2 separate regions of the Homo sapiens genome follow, and region 2 is linked to region 1. Evidence: promoter capture Hi-C in 16 types of primary human blood cells and fetal thymus (Javierre and others, 2016). All regions are on one chromosome and are shown on one strand. The core of a region is centred on a gene start or on the middle of the fragment in contact, and the rest is flanking DNA. Distances in the headings are between cores, read along the strand shown. Region 1 holds the start of TMEM215 (transmembrane protein 215). Region 2 has its middle 46 kb from the start of TMEM215.

Region 1 (5,945 bases), core at 1,674-4,173:
CTCAGCAATCTTGCTTCTTTAGGACCCAACTTTATTTCCAGCACTATTGTCAAAACACGTCCACAACACTGACATCAGCTCAGCCCTGCAGAAGTAACTACAAGAGAACCAAGGAACATTAGAGCTAAAATGAATCTTACCTAGCACCTCATTCAAAGTCTTTGTTTCATTAAGAAGTTGAAACACAGGAAGGTAAAGTTATTTTCCTAGGGTCACCACCATAAGAGGGGATAATCAAAGGACTTAGGAGGTAAAACTATAATGACTTGGGTGACTTACTGGACGTAGGCTGTTAGGGAGAGAAAGGAGTAGAGAACAATTGCAAATATTCTCAGTTGGCAAATGGAAGGAATGATGAGGTTGGGTTTGGAACATAATCCCAAAGGACACAATCCCAAACCCCACAATCCCTAATGTTGAAATCCCCATAGATCAAAATCACTAAAGTCTAAATCCCTGAAGTCTAAAGTCCCTAGCAAGTGTGAGGTGTCTGCATACCATCCAGATTAGAGATATCAAGCAGACAGTTGGATATTATAGATTTGGGGCTGAGGGAAAATGACAAAGCTAAAGAGAGAGTTTTGGGAGTCATCAGCCTATTCAGGCTGTTCGAGGCTATTACAGAATGAGAAGAAAGAGAAGAGAAATCAAGAAAGGGGAGAAGCAAGAATAGAACCCACAGAACATCAGTATCTAAGGGGTTTGTTAAAATAAAAAATAAATAAAATAGGAGTTTATAAAGTAGCCTACAAATAAGTGACCAGGGAGATAGGAAGAAAACTAGGATAGAATGGTGTCAGTAAAAGAAACGGTTTTAAGAAGGGAAAACTTTTCAATAATTGTAACACACGTAGCGAGCTGCTTCCCCAGTATTTAAAAGGAGCAGTATGCTGCTCCTTTTAAACAAAACCCTTTTTTCAGACCATCAGTGGATCTGGTAAATAAATAAACAACAATTTCCCAGGTACCTTTGTATCCCAAAGCTCATCCATCTCTGGTCAATTACAGGCAGATGCCTATCTACTTGGGGGGGCTGCCAGGAAAATTATTATTGTCCTCATACAAGTGGCCAAAGAACTGGCACCTCACTTTTACCCTTTGCATTTTCTCCTTTCTTCCCTCCTAAATGATTCTATGCCTAAAGGTGCAGCAGCTGTCTAATGGTCATGAGTACAAAAGATACAAAATAGATGATGGAGAGGAAAATGAGAAGGATCTGCTTCCTGATCCACCCCTTTGAAAGTGAGAAAGTTGGGAGTTGACCTTGGCTCCTCCCTTCATCTCACTTCACTGTGCTCCAAGACACTTCACTCAACCCTTAAATACCCTCAGATCTGCTTCCTTCCAACTCCTCTACCAGCCCGACATTGTTAAGGCCACATCATGTCTTGCCCGGCTTACTGAACTTCTCAGCTTACTGAACAAGACTCCCGGCTTCCAGACTTACCAGCTCCAACCTATGCTCTCACCTGCCGCCCCTTTCAGTCAAACTGGAATGTTTTTGTATTGATCTTTGCTTAAAATACATCAAGCGTTCTTCATTGCCTAGTGGATAAAAAGTCCTTAGTCTCACAGCCTTTATGATTTGTTTGGCTCCTGTCATACATGATGAAGACACTAATTATGATGACAAATATATATACATATACATGTGTACGTGTGTGCATGTGTGTGTAATTTTTGTACACAGACTATGTACCAAGCATTGTGCTAGGAACTTTACGTTTATTTAATCCTCACAATGTTTCCTCATATATTTGGTATTAATCTCATTTTACAGATAGGACGACTGATTCTCAGAGAGGTTAAGTCACTTGCCCAGGAATATACAGCTAGTTTAACTGGGGAAGGCCTGGATGTGAAAATTCTTTCCAGTAAATCAGTGTCTTGACATGAAAGCATGTACCGCTCATCAACCTGTTCTCCACCGCCCTCCTCTATCCTAAATGGGCAGCCCTGTTGAAGAATCACAGCCAAAGCCAGTCTTGCCCCCCGGGGCCAGAGGAATCCATCTGCCCCTGCCTACCAGAGCGGGAGGAACGCAGGCTCTCAATGCCTGCTTCAGCAAGGGAGGAGAGAATCGCCCAGAGCTGAGCGGCGTCGTAGGGTGGTGGTCCTGACCGGTCAAGGCCCCTTCTCCTCGTGAACTGGGGGCCAGGGAGCCCTTCTCCCTGTCCCCCCGGCACCACAGCGCTGTAGAAGTGAAATCCCGGCTCCAAGGTCACCCTCTCCCGAGCCTGGAGCTGGAAAGCCACGGGGACTCCGGGGACTCCCCCAAGGCCCGGACTAGCCTGGCACCCACCCCTCACCACTAACCCACTCCGCCTGGGCGCTGGTTCTGTGCGCTCCCGCGGCGCAGTCGCTCCGCTGCAAGAGCGCTTTCGCGCGCCGCCACCGCCCAGAGCCGGGACCAAAGCAGTCCTCGGGCACCGGCTCCCCGAGGGACACACACCCCCCCGCGCCCCGAGTCGAGGGGTTGAGAGAAGGGCGGTCGGGGAGCCCCTGGGCCTGCCGTCAGTCACCCGGATTTGTAACTGGAGAAGGGTGCGGGTCCCGGAGGGACATCTCCAGCTGGCACCTAACTCCTCGGATCCCGGACTGGGAGCCCGAGCTCGGATATTGCAACGGCTGCCCCGTGGGCAAACCGACCCTGGTTTCCGACTCCGGCCACTGGCAGCCTCGCGCCCCAGACCCTTCCCGGGCACGGAAGCGGGTCAGGTCGCCCTGCTCAGCCTCCGGAACGGCGGCGGCACAAACCCCGGCCGCTCCCAGCAGCCCCGACGAGACCCCGGGCAGCGCCTGCCGCCGGGTGGCCTCCCTCTGGGGCTGACCCCCTCGCGCCCCCGCGCGTCTGTCTGCGTTTCTGAGCCTGCTCTGACAGTGATGTAACAAGGCCAGGCTCGCGCCGCGTCCCCTCTTTCCCAGACTCAGTGCTCCCTCCTCCTCCCGCGCCCCGCGCTCTGCGCGCTGAGCTGGCGCCGGGCTCCGCTTGCACAGCACCGGGACCGACGGGCACTGCTGGGAGAGCCGCTCTCCCAGGTTCCACCTCCCCGATGCAGAGTCCGTGGGGGAAACCAGGCTTTCCTCCCAGAACCAAGGGAGCGAGCCGAGGGGGCAGCTGCTGTGGGGGCTTCTGAGGAGACAGCCTGGCTTCTTTCCCTACTTCCTGGAGAGGGCAGGAAACCTCAGGTACCTCGTTGACCCCAGCCGGAGCGTGTTGATATGAGAGAGAGACGGAGGTTGCAATAGTGAGAGGAAGAGAGGGAGGGCACAAGAAAGGGAGGGAGGGAGAGGGGACGGAGAGAAAGAGTAGAAATAGAAACAGGGAGAGATTGCAAGAGAAACGCAGAGAGAGAGATAGAGAGATTGCAAGAGAGATACAGAGACAGAGATCAAGACTGAAAGTCAAGAAGCAAGTCGGAGACAAAGGGCAAGAGAAAGACAAGAGTTGATGGGTGGGAGCTTGACTTGGATTTTTTTTTAACGCACTGTGGTTTCATCTCTGACAGAATAGAGGAACGCTGCTCCCTGGTCAGCAAGCAGCCCCCAACCTGGATGGAGTGAAACATGCGGCCTGATGACATTAACCCGAGGACTGGGCTGGTGGTGGCCCTGGTCAGTGTCTTCCTCGTCTTTGGTTTCATGTTCACCGTCTCTGGGATGAAAGGGGAGACTTTGGGAAACATCCCCCTCCTGGCCATCGGGCCAGCCATCTGCCTACCAGGCATCGCAGCCATTGCCCTGGCCAGGAAAACCGAGGGATGCACCAAGTGGCCAGAGAACGAGCTGCTGTGGGTCCGCAAATTGCCCTGCTTCCGGAAACCCAAAGACAAGGAGGTGGTAGAGCTGCTGAGGACCCCTTCAGACCTAGAATCCGGCAAGGGGAGCTCAGATGAGCTGGCTAAGAAGGCGGGCCTCAGGGGGAAGCCTCCCCCACAAAGCCAGGGTGAGGTGTCCGTGGCCAGCTCCATCAACAGCCCCACACCCACGGAGGAAGGAGAATGCCAGAGCCTCGTCCAGAATGGGCATCAGGAGGAGACGTCCAGATACCTGGACGGCTACTGCCCCTCGGGCAGTTCCCTCACCTACAGTGCCTTGGACGTCAAGTGCTCAGCAAGGGACAGATCTGAGTGCCCTGAGCCTGAGGATAGCATCTTCTTTGTGCCCCAGGACAGTATCATCGTTTGCTCCTACAAGCAGAACAGCCCGTATGACAGATACTGTTGTTATATCAATCAGATACAAGGCAGGTGGGACCACGAGACCATCGTCTAATCTCTGCCTACAAAGGTGGCTGGATTGATAGAATATGACTAAGCCCAGCTCCCCGTGGAAGCAAATTGCTCTGCTTGGAGAGCCTTCACACTGTTAGAAATTGACCTGGTATGTGATGGGTGTGATAACCTCTGGTACCCGAGAGTCATGTAAATAGGCATGTTGGGGACACATTTTAGGGAAGGGCGATGAGGGTTAAGGACACTGGAAGAGGCAGTGGGTAGGAAAGGAAGCTACTCCAGTTGCTTCTTAACAATTTACACAATGTTAAATGTTTTGTAAAATAACCCAAAAAGTGCTATCCAGAACCAGCTGAGAGCAAGATAAATCTAGAGTGGGCTGCAGATGTGAGGCATCAAATGATGCATGAGCTGACCACAGGGAAACTGAGCTGCTTTATGTTTGAATAAGTTGAAAATAAAATTAATGATCCGTTATATAAAGTAATTTTTGCCTGGTTAAAAGCTTATCACACTTGGTATTTGCTGAAAGAAAAAAAAATCAAGATACAAGAGTTAAACCCTCCTTAGATGGGATGGTTTTTGGGAAAAGGGTAGTTAAAGAGAGTTGGATTATGTAACTGAGTCTTGTGGCATTATTGTCTGACAAGATCATGGTCTCTAATAAAGTAAAATAAGTGTGAGCAGCTATGTGAAAAGTTAACATTTTTAGATGGCTATGTTACTTCTTAAACTCTTCGTTTAAATCCATTTATTGCATCTTTATCTGAAATGGGTTTTTTCTAAACATTTACTATCATTCATGTATTATTTCCTTACCAGGTGCAACATTATTTGAAATGATACTTTCATAGATTGGAATTTGTTTTCATCAAGACAAAATGAATTTTACATATATATCCAAGTCTTTAACATTGGCAGACATGTACTGATAATTACCATTCCTACATACCTTTTAAAATCTGAAAACTATAAAGTCTACACATTAGCCTTGAACATTGCACATAATTTGTATGAAATGCAATGGTTAAACCTTTGGAAGTGTCATTATTTGTACATTTGTTCAACTCCTCTCACAGACTGTAAATGCCAGTGAAACAAGAACTCATCTACTAAATTTAACTGAAGCCTAGATTTTATTAAGCTCACCTGATCAGTGAACATTACATGATAAAAGTCTCTTTATTTCATACATTTTTGCTGCTGAGGAAAACAACAAATCACAATGATATCCTAAAATGTGCTTTCTATTTCACTTGCTCAACTGCAATAGATAAGAAGGCTATCAAGCAGAATGCCATTTGATCCCCGGTGAAGAAAAATATGAATTATATATAGGAATGGTGATAGAGTTCATCTTGAAGATCAGAAGTATTTTGTATCCTTCAAAGAATGATCATTTTAAGTGATCATATAGTCTTAGTCACTTTCTCCCAAAAGGGGAATTGAGGACAAAAATTTGGGCATATATGTTTTGTGTATTTCAATTCCAACTCTGCAATTCTTTCTTAAGTATAGCAATTGTTCTGTCTTAAGAATCATGGTATTTTTAAAAAATCATAATTTTCAAGTCAAGTTCAAGATCAAAAATATGTAATTATTTTAGTAGGGCTTAAATATCAGAAATGAGATGCATGATCTTGGGCAAATTTTATCTTCTTACACCTGAGTTTCCTACTCTGTGAAGGGAGGGGGAACTGATTTACACTT
Region 2 (5,945 bases), core at 1,056-3,555, 45 kb after region 1:
GTGTGGTGAAGGAAACAAACCAAGTGCTGGATAAAACATTATCTTCCATAAATGGTGACACTAAAACTGAAACCTGAAGTTTGGGAAACAGCCTTATAGAGACTGGAGGGGAGAGGTCAAGGTGGGGAGTCACGGGGAGAAGGGGACAAGGTGCTGCAAGAGGAAAGCAGAATCCGCCGGGATGTCTTAAAAATACTCCTGGGAGGATGAGGGATAAAAAACTACATATTGGGTACAATGGACACTACTCAGATGATGGGTGCACTAAAATTTCAGACTTCACTATACAATTCATCCACGTTACCAAAAACCACTTGTAACCCTGAAACTATTGAAATAAAAATAAATAAATAAAATTAAATAAACAAAAAATACTGTTGACCAGATCTCACCTCATACAAATGTGAAAGAAAAATAGAATCTCAGGACCCCAAATTCACTATGCCAAAGGGAAAGTTAAACTTGGGAACTGAGTCATGCAAAAACTTCCTTCCTTTTGTTCCCAGATAGCTGTAATTTCGCATGCTTACTTTAGCTTATGTAAAATGTAGATTTCCTGAGCGCTAATCAGAGCCTCACAAGAATGTAACCACTGGCCTCATTGCTTGCTGTCTCTTTTTTTTCCTTCCCTTCCTGCTTGCTTTTTCTCCTTTACATATTAATGTTTCCAAAACCATCTTTGGAAAAGGTGCAAGTCACAGGTCCTACCATGATTTTTGTTTCTTCTTCCTGGGTGCATTCTCAACCTTGGCAAAATGAACCTCTAATTAATTGAGATCTGCTTCAGTCACTTTTTGGTTTGCACCGATTAAAGCAGAGTGCCTGGTGGAGGCACCTGGGCATGGTTATGCTTTTGAGCTTCCCAGTGCAATCTGGGAAGAGAACTACCATTTTAGGGCAAGCATTTCTTGAAGACCGCAGTAAGGAGTTTGCTTTTTAGTGAGGATGTAATTGGAAGTATCTGGGAGGTTTCAAGCAGAAAAATGACATCCTCACCTTCACTGGTTTAAACTATCAAAAGAACTCGTTGGTGGAAAGAAACCAGCTTTATGAAAGAGGAAACTCTTTTCTAAAACAAGAACAAAAGATGGAGAAAGAAGTACTTTTATAGATAAGTTTAAAAGTGAAAAGGAAAGTTTACATCTAAGAACTTCTGTTTTCTCTAAGAAAGGAAAGACTTGGTCCCACCTGCAATGATTGAGGGGCATGTGGGTGTGGCTCAAAGGAGAAATGGGAGATCAGAAACAGCCAACAAAGGGAACAGGAAAGGAAGACATCTGGTCAATAAGAAGAGCTAGAGGCACCAGGAGCCTCAGCCCTGAAACCAGCTCCTTAGGGAGTTTATCTTAGGTGGAGCCCTCGTCATCAGGTGAGGTTATGTAAGCATCTCTGCTGTGCACAAGGAGAATCTGAGGCCTGTTAGACTGACCAAGAGACACAAGCTGTAGAGCAAGTGCAGGTTAAAAAAGAGGTGGCACAGAGTTGAGCATTGTCAACAGGAAACCACTCTAGAGATTGATCATGGATTCCAGGCTGCATGAGAAAGAAAAGCTTGTTAGGCTGGAACAGTTGAGATCCCGGAGCCTTGGAGCAGCTGAAGAACAAATAGATTTAGTGAGACAGAGAGAAGAGATGGAAGATGTGGACCCAGGGTGGGACTTATTTTTTTAAAGGAGCAGTTTCAAGCAATGATGAGGTCTGGGTTGTGACCACAGGAACAGCAGCAGCAGCATCTAGTTTACCCACCACAGTGTTCAGAGAACCATGCAAGTCAACAGACTTTTGTTTATGAACTGAAGGGTTCAGAACATGACACAACAAAGTATGCCACTTTGGTATAAAGATATTTTGAGCTGAAGGCAGGTGAGAATCAGCAGACACAGAAAAAAAGCTCTCGGCCAGGCGCGGTGGCTCACGCCTGTAATCCCAGCACTTTGGGAGGCCAAGGCGGGCGGATCACGAGGTCAGGAGATCGAGACCATCCTGGCTAACACAGTGAAACCCCGTCTCTACTAAAAATACAAAAAATTAGCCGCGCGAGGTGGCGGGCGCCTGCAGTCCCAGCCACTCTGGAGGCTGAGACAGGAGAATGGCGTGAACCCCTGGGGGCGGAGCCTGCAGTGAGCCGAGATTGCGCCACTGCACTCCAACCTGGGCGACAGTGAGACTCTGTCTCAAAAAAAAAAAAAAAAAAAGAAAAGAAAAGAAAAAAAGCTCTCTACCCTCCTCCTATTTGCCTAAAAGAAGGGCATAAATTTCCTAGACCCTTATCATCCCAGAAATAGTACTGAGAGAAACCTGCATCACAAACGTTACTTAAATAACCCTTATCTTCCATTAGTTTCTTCCACATATTTGCCGTCCCACAATTTACTGCCACTAGAAGCTCAAACCCCTTTCCTTTGTCTTGTCAATTATCTGCAAATGTATTGCCCTTTGTTAAAAGGGCAAAAATAACTGTCGGGTCTAACTACTTCTTTCGGTTTTTATTTCATTTTTGTGAGCCCCTCGTATGCATATAAAATAAACCTTTTTCTCCTGTTAATCTCTCTTTTGTCAGTTCAATTCCAGTCATTGAACCTAAGAGTGCAGAGGAAAAAGCCTTTATTTCTGTCTGACAGGACATTAGTTAGCTTCTGAATTAAAAGTGCTCTACAACCTCCAAGCATTAGAGTATTATTGTTATGAGATACTGGGGAGATAGACTTGAGTCATATGCTTGATGGTGTTCTGGCACCTTCCTTGAAGCATTTAAACCCTGAAGATCAACAATTATTGACCTATATTATCTCAGGGGGTGGGAAAGTTCTCTTTGAAAACAATTCACACCATCATGTTATCAAAAAACTAAAATCAATGACTCAATTCAAAATGTCACTCTGTTGCTGACACCCAGTCCTGACAACTCCCCTGGTTATTTCTGTCTTGGAAACAAGCCTGTCAACATCTTGGTTGGCCAATTGCAAGATTCTTTCCCCAGTCAACTGGAAGTTCGATTGTGAAGCCCAGCTGAAAACTTAGGAACCACTTTGGAGAAGTGAAGGTGAGAAATAAAAACTAAAGCTTCAAGCCCCCTGCTGTGAAGAGCACCACAGTGAAGAGTTAAGATTACTGGCTCAGTGATGAGATCTGGCATCAAGATACATCTCCAACTTACCAGATGGGTAGACTTCCACAAATTTGATTCTTACTGTCCTCTTCTGTAGAGTGTATTCATAATACCTACTTGGTCTTTCCAAGGTATTTATGAATCCACTTCATAATACCTATGAATGAAACCTTTGTTACAAAGGTTAAACAAGATCAAGTACATAAAGCACTAAGCACAGGGTTTGACACATAGCAAACATTCATTAAACAGTAGTTACTTTTATTATTATTATTATCATTATTATTATTATTATTATTACTATTATCAGGTTCCCAAATAGTATGCCGAGAGTAATGAACTGCTTCCAAGTTATTGCTGAGGGATTGTAGCCACTTTAAAGAGCTCTCCAAAGTGATTACACAGCAGCTGGAGGGTGCAGGTAGGAGAGCCCTGATTTGTAGCTACATGCAATTTCATGCTATTACATGATATCTATCTCTGGGTGCACATTTTGCTCTCAGGAGTCATATAAGGTAGCTCCCATTCACCTCTGGATGGTTGTCTGAGATTTACTCCCAAAGGTCTTTGGGAATTCATTCATCTGTTCACTTAATGCATGTAGATATGCATATATAGAGATACATAGATGTATCTCAAACACCTACTCTATTGTGGGTCAAACATCTACCATGCAAAGAGGATTTTAAAAATAAAGAAGACTGGCCCTTCCTTCCCCCAGAGCCTGTGATCAAGGAGGGGTGGGCAATTAGGCAGCCATGACAACATTGAGAGGTAGAAGCCATGAGGAAAGAGCAGTGTGGCCAGGAAGTTCAGGGAGGGGTACCTCACCCATATGAGAGTTTAGAGAAGGCTCCTAGTCTAGACACTGAGCAGTAGGTAGACAGGAAAGGTGAGAGCTGTGGGTGTGTTGAGCAGAGGAAGAGTGAGTGCTAAGGCACCGTGGCCTGAAGGTGTGAGCAGATACTAAGAGGTTAGTATGAGTGAGCATGGCACAGGGCAGAAACCCCATCATCTAACCCCACCCAGGCCATGCAGGGTCTGTGAGCAGTGGAGAACCAATATGGAGTTTTAAATAGAAGCATGAGAGGGTTGGGTTTGCCTTTTAGAAAGATTGCTCTGATGCATTATGTAATTTAAAACAAATTTTTTTAAGTGGAGAAAAGAAAGATAAGCCTGGTTATAGTGTAGATTTAAAAAGTAGTGGGGGAGGGATGGGTAAGACTGGAGGCAGGGAGCACCACTTGGAGGCTGTTCCTATCATCTGAGCAAGGGACGATGGTGCCCTGCCCCAGGGATGGAGAGAAGGACAGTGATGAAGATTCAGGACCTGGTAACTGCTAGGAGTGGTGGGAGAGGGAGAAGGAGGGGTCGAGAATGACGTCCAGGTGTGTCTGCCCTGGTGGATGGACATGCCATTCTCTGAAAAGCTGAAAATGGGAGGAAAAGAAGCAGTACTGAAGTGGGGAAGAGTATGGGGTTCAGTATTGGACATGTTGAGGTGGAGGTGCCTAAGAGACACTACTCGAGGATGACAAGCAGGAGTGAAATAATTCCACCTGGTATGCAGGAAGAAATCCGAGCTGGCAACAGAGTCTTCAGGGTCTCTGGCACAGAGGTCCCAGCATAAGCCACGGGGGCAGTTTAGAGCATCCATAGAGGGGGAGTAGTTAGGACAGGGCAGGGCTTAGGGTAGGACTATGAGTATCATCAACTTTACATCCCCAGGAGGAGCACCTGTAGGAGCCTGAGAAGGATCAACCAGATACATCAAAAGAAAACCTGGAAAATGAGGAATGGTGACGCTCAAATGAAAACTGTTTCAAGAAGGAAGAATGAGGCCGGGCGCAGTGGCTCATGCCTGTAATCACTAGCACTTTGGGAGGCTGAGGCAGTCAGATCACTTGAGGTCAGGAGTTTGAGACCAGCCTAGCCAAATGCCAAAACCCCTCTCTAAGTTTACAGAGACCTGAGCATGTTTAAAGGCTAACAGGGAGAAGTCAGTAAAGAGGAGGAGGCTGAGGGGGCAGGAAGAAGATGTAACATGGGCCAGGCTGAGCCTGAAAGGAGCTGAGCCCGGGCTTCCAGTCACCTCTCCATAGTGGAGACAGCCCTAAGGGTCTCAGATCACCCCGGAGTTCACCATCCCAGTGAGGAGGAGAAGGAAGACAAGGCAGGAAGGGACAAAGGAACATGTAAGTTGTTAGACAACTGGGACCACACCAGTTTGTAAGTTACTAGTACCAGGCCCCAATTATTTAAAGCACCACCATTTTGGGGTAGTGTGACTAAAACTTATTTTTAAAGTTATTCCATGAAACAAAGTTTTCTAGTTTTTTACCAGAATACATTTTTAGATCCTGTAAATGCTTAGAAAAGGGAATCCCAACTGGCAGCCTGTACATCCAATCCAGCTGGCATATAAGTATTTTGCCTAAACGGTGTTAGAAAATATAGGAAATTTCACTTAAAAATCTAGACTGCTAAATTCTTTTGAAAACGAAGATCTGGCAACACCAGCACTGCATGGCATCCCTCAGATATCTGAGTGGCTGCTCTGCCCCCATTGAAAAGGGGCAAATGCACTCCATCCAGCTTGTCATAGCCTCCCCAAGCCTCTTTCCTGGCCCCAAGAGGCAAACTCCTCTGCCCTTGCACAAGGGTGGGTCCCATGGTGCTGTTGTCTGTCCCAGCCCTACCTTGTGATGGAGAACCTTCCATGTGCCAAGCAGAGTTTGAAGGCACTGGGGATACAGCAGTAGCTGCTACACTCTTCCTGTCCACAGAGCTTAGAAACTGGGGAGGCCAATGGAGCTCTAATCTCAGCAGGGTGGGG

What was found. Contacts are between HindIII fragments. The CHiCAGO score rates a contact against its expected background, and 5 or more counts as called.
Region 2: a fragment that was not itself captured here is called in contact with the fragment with the promoter of TMEM215 in region 1 in 1 of 17 cell types (M0 macrophages); the score reaches 5.3 in M0 macrophages.

Annotation. Positions count from the first base shown.
Region 1 is chr9:32,780,617-32,786,561 of GRCh38, forward strand. TMEM215 (transmembrane protein 215) reads left to right here and starts at 2,924. Exons shown (of 2, transcript NM_212558.3): 1 at 2,924-3,189; 2 at 3,510-5,945. The coding sequence starts at 3,568. The coding sequence ends at 4,275. LOC105376017 (a long non-coding RNA gene) reads right to left here and starts at 2,290. Exons shown (of 7, transcript XR_929559.2): 1 at 2,027-2,290. The HindIII fragment of the contact is 4,873 bases long and covers 1-4,738 here.
Region 2 is chr9:32,826,565-32,832,509 of GRCh38, forward strand. No RefSeq gene overlaps it. Among named protein-coding and RNA genes, the nearest start is that of TMEM215, 46 kb to the left of the region's middle. The HindIII fragment of the contact is 1,512 bases long and covers 1,550-3,061 here.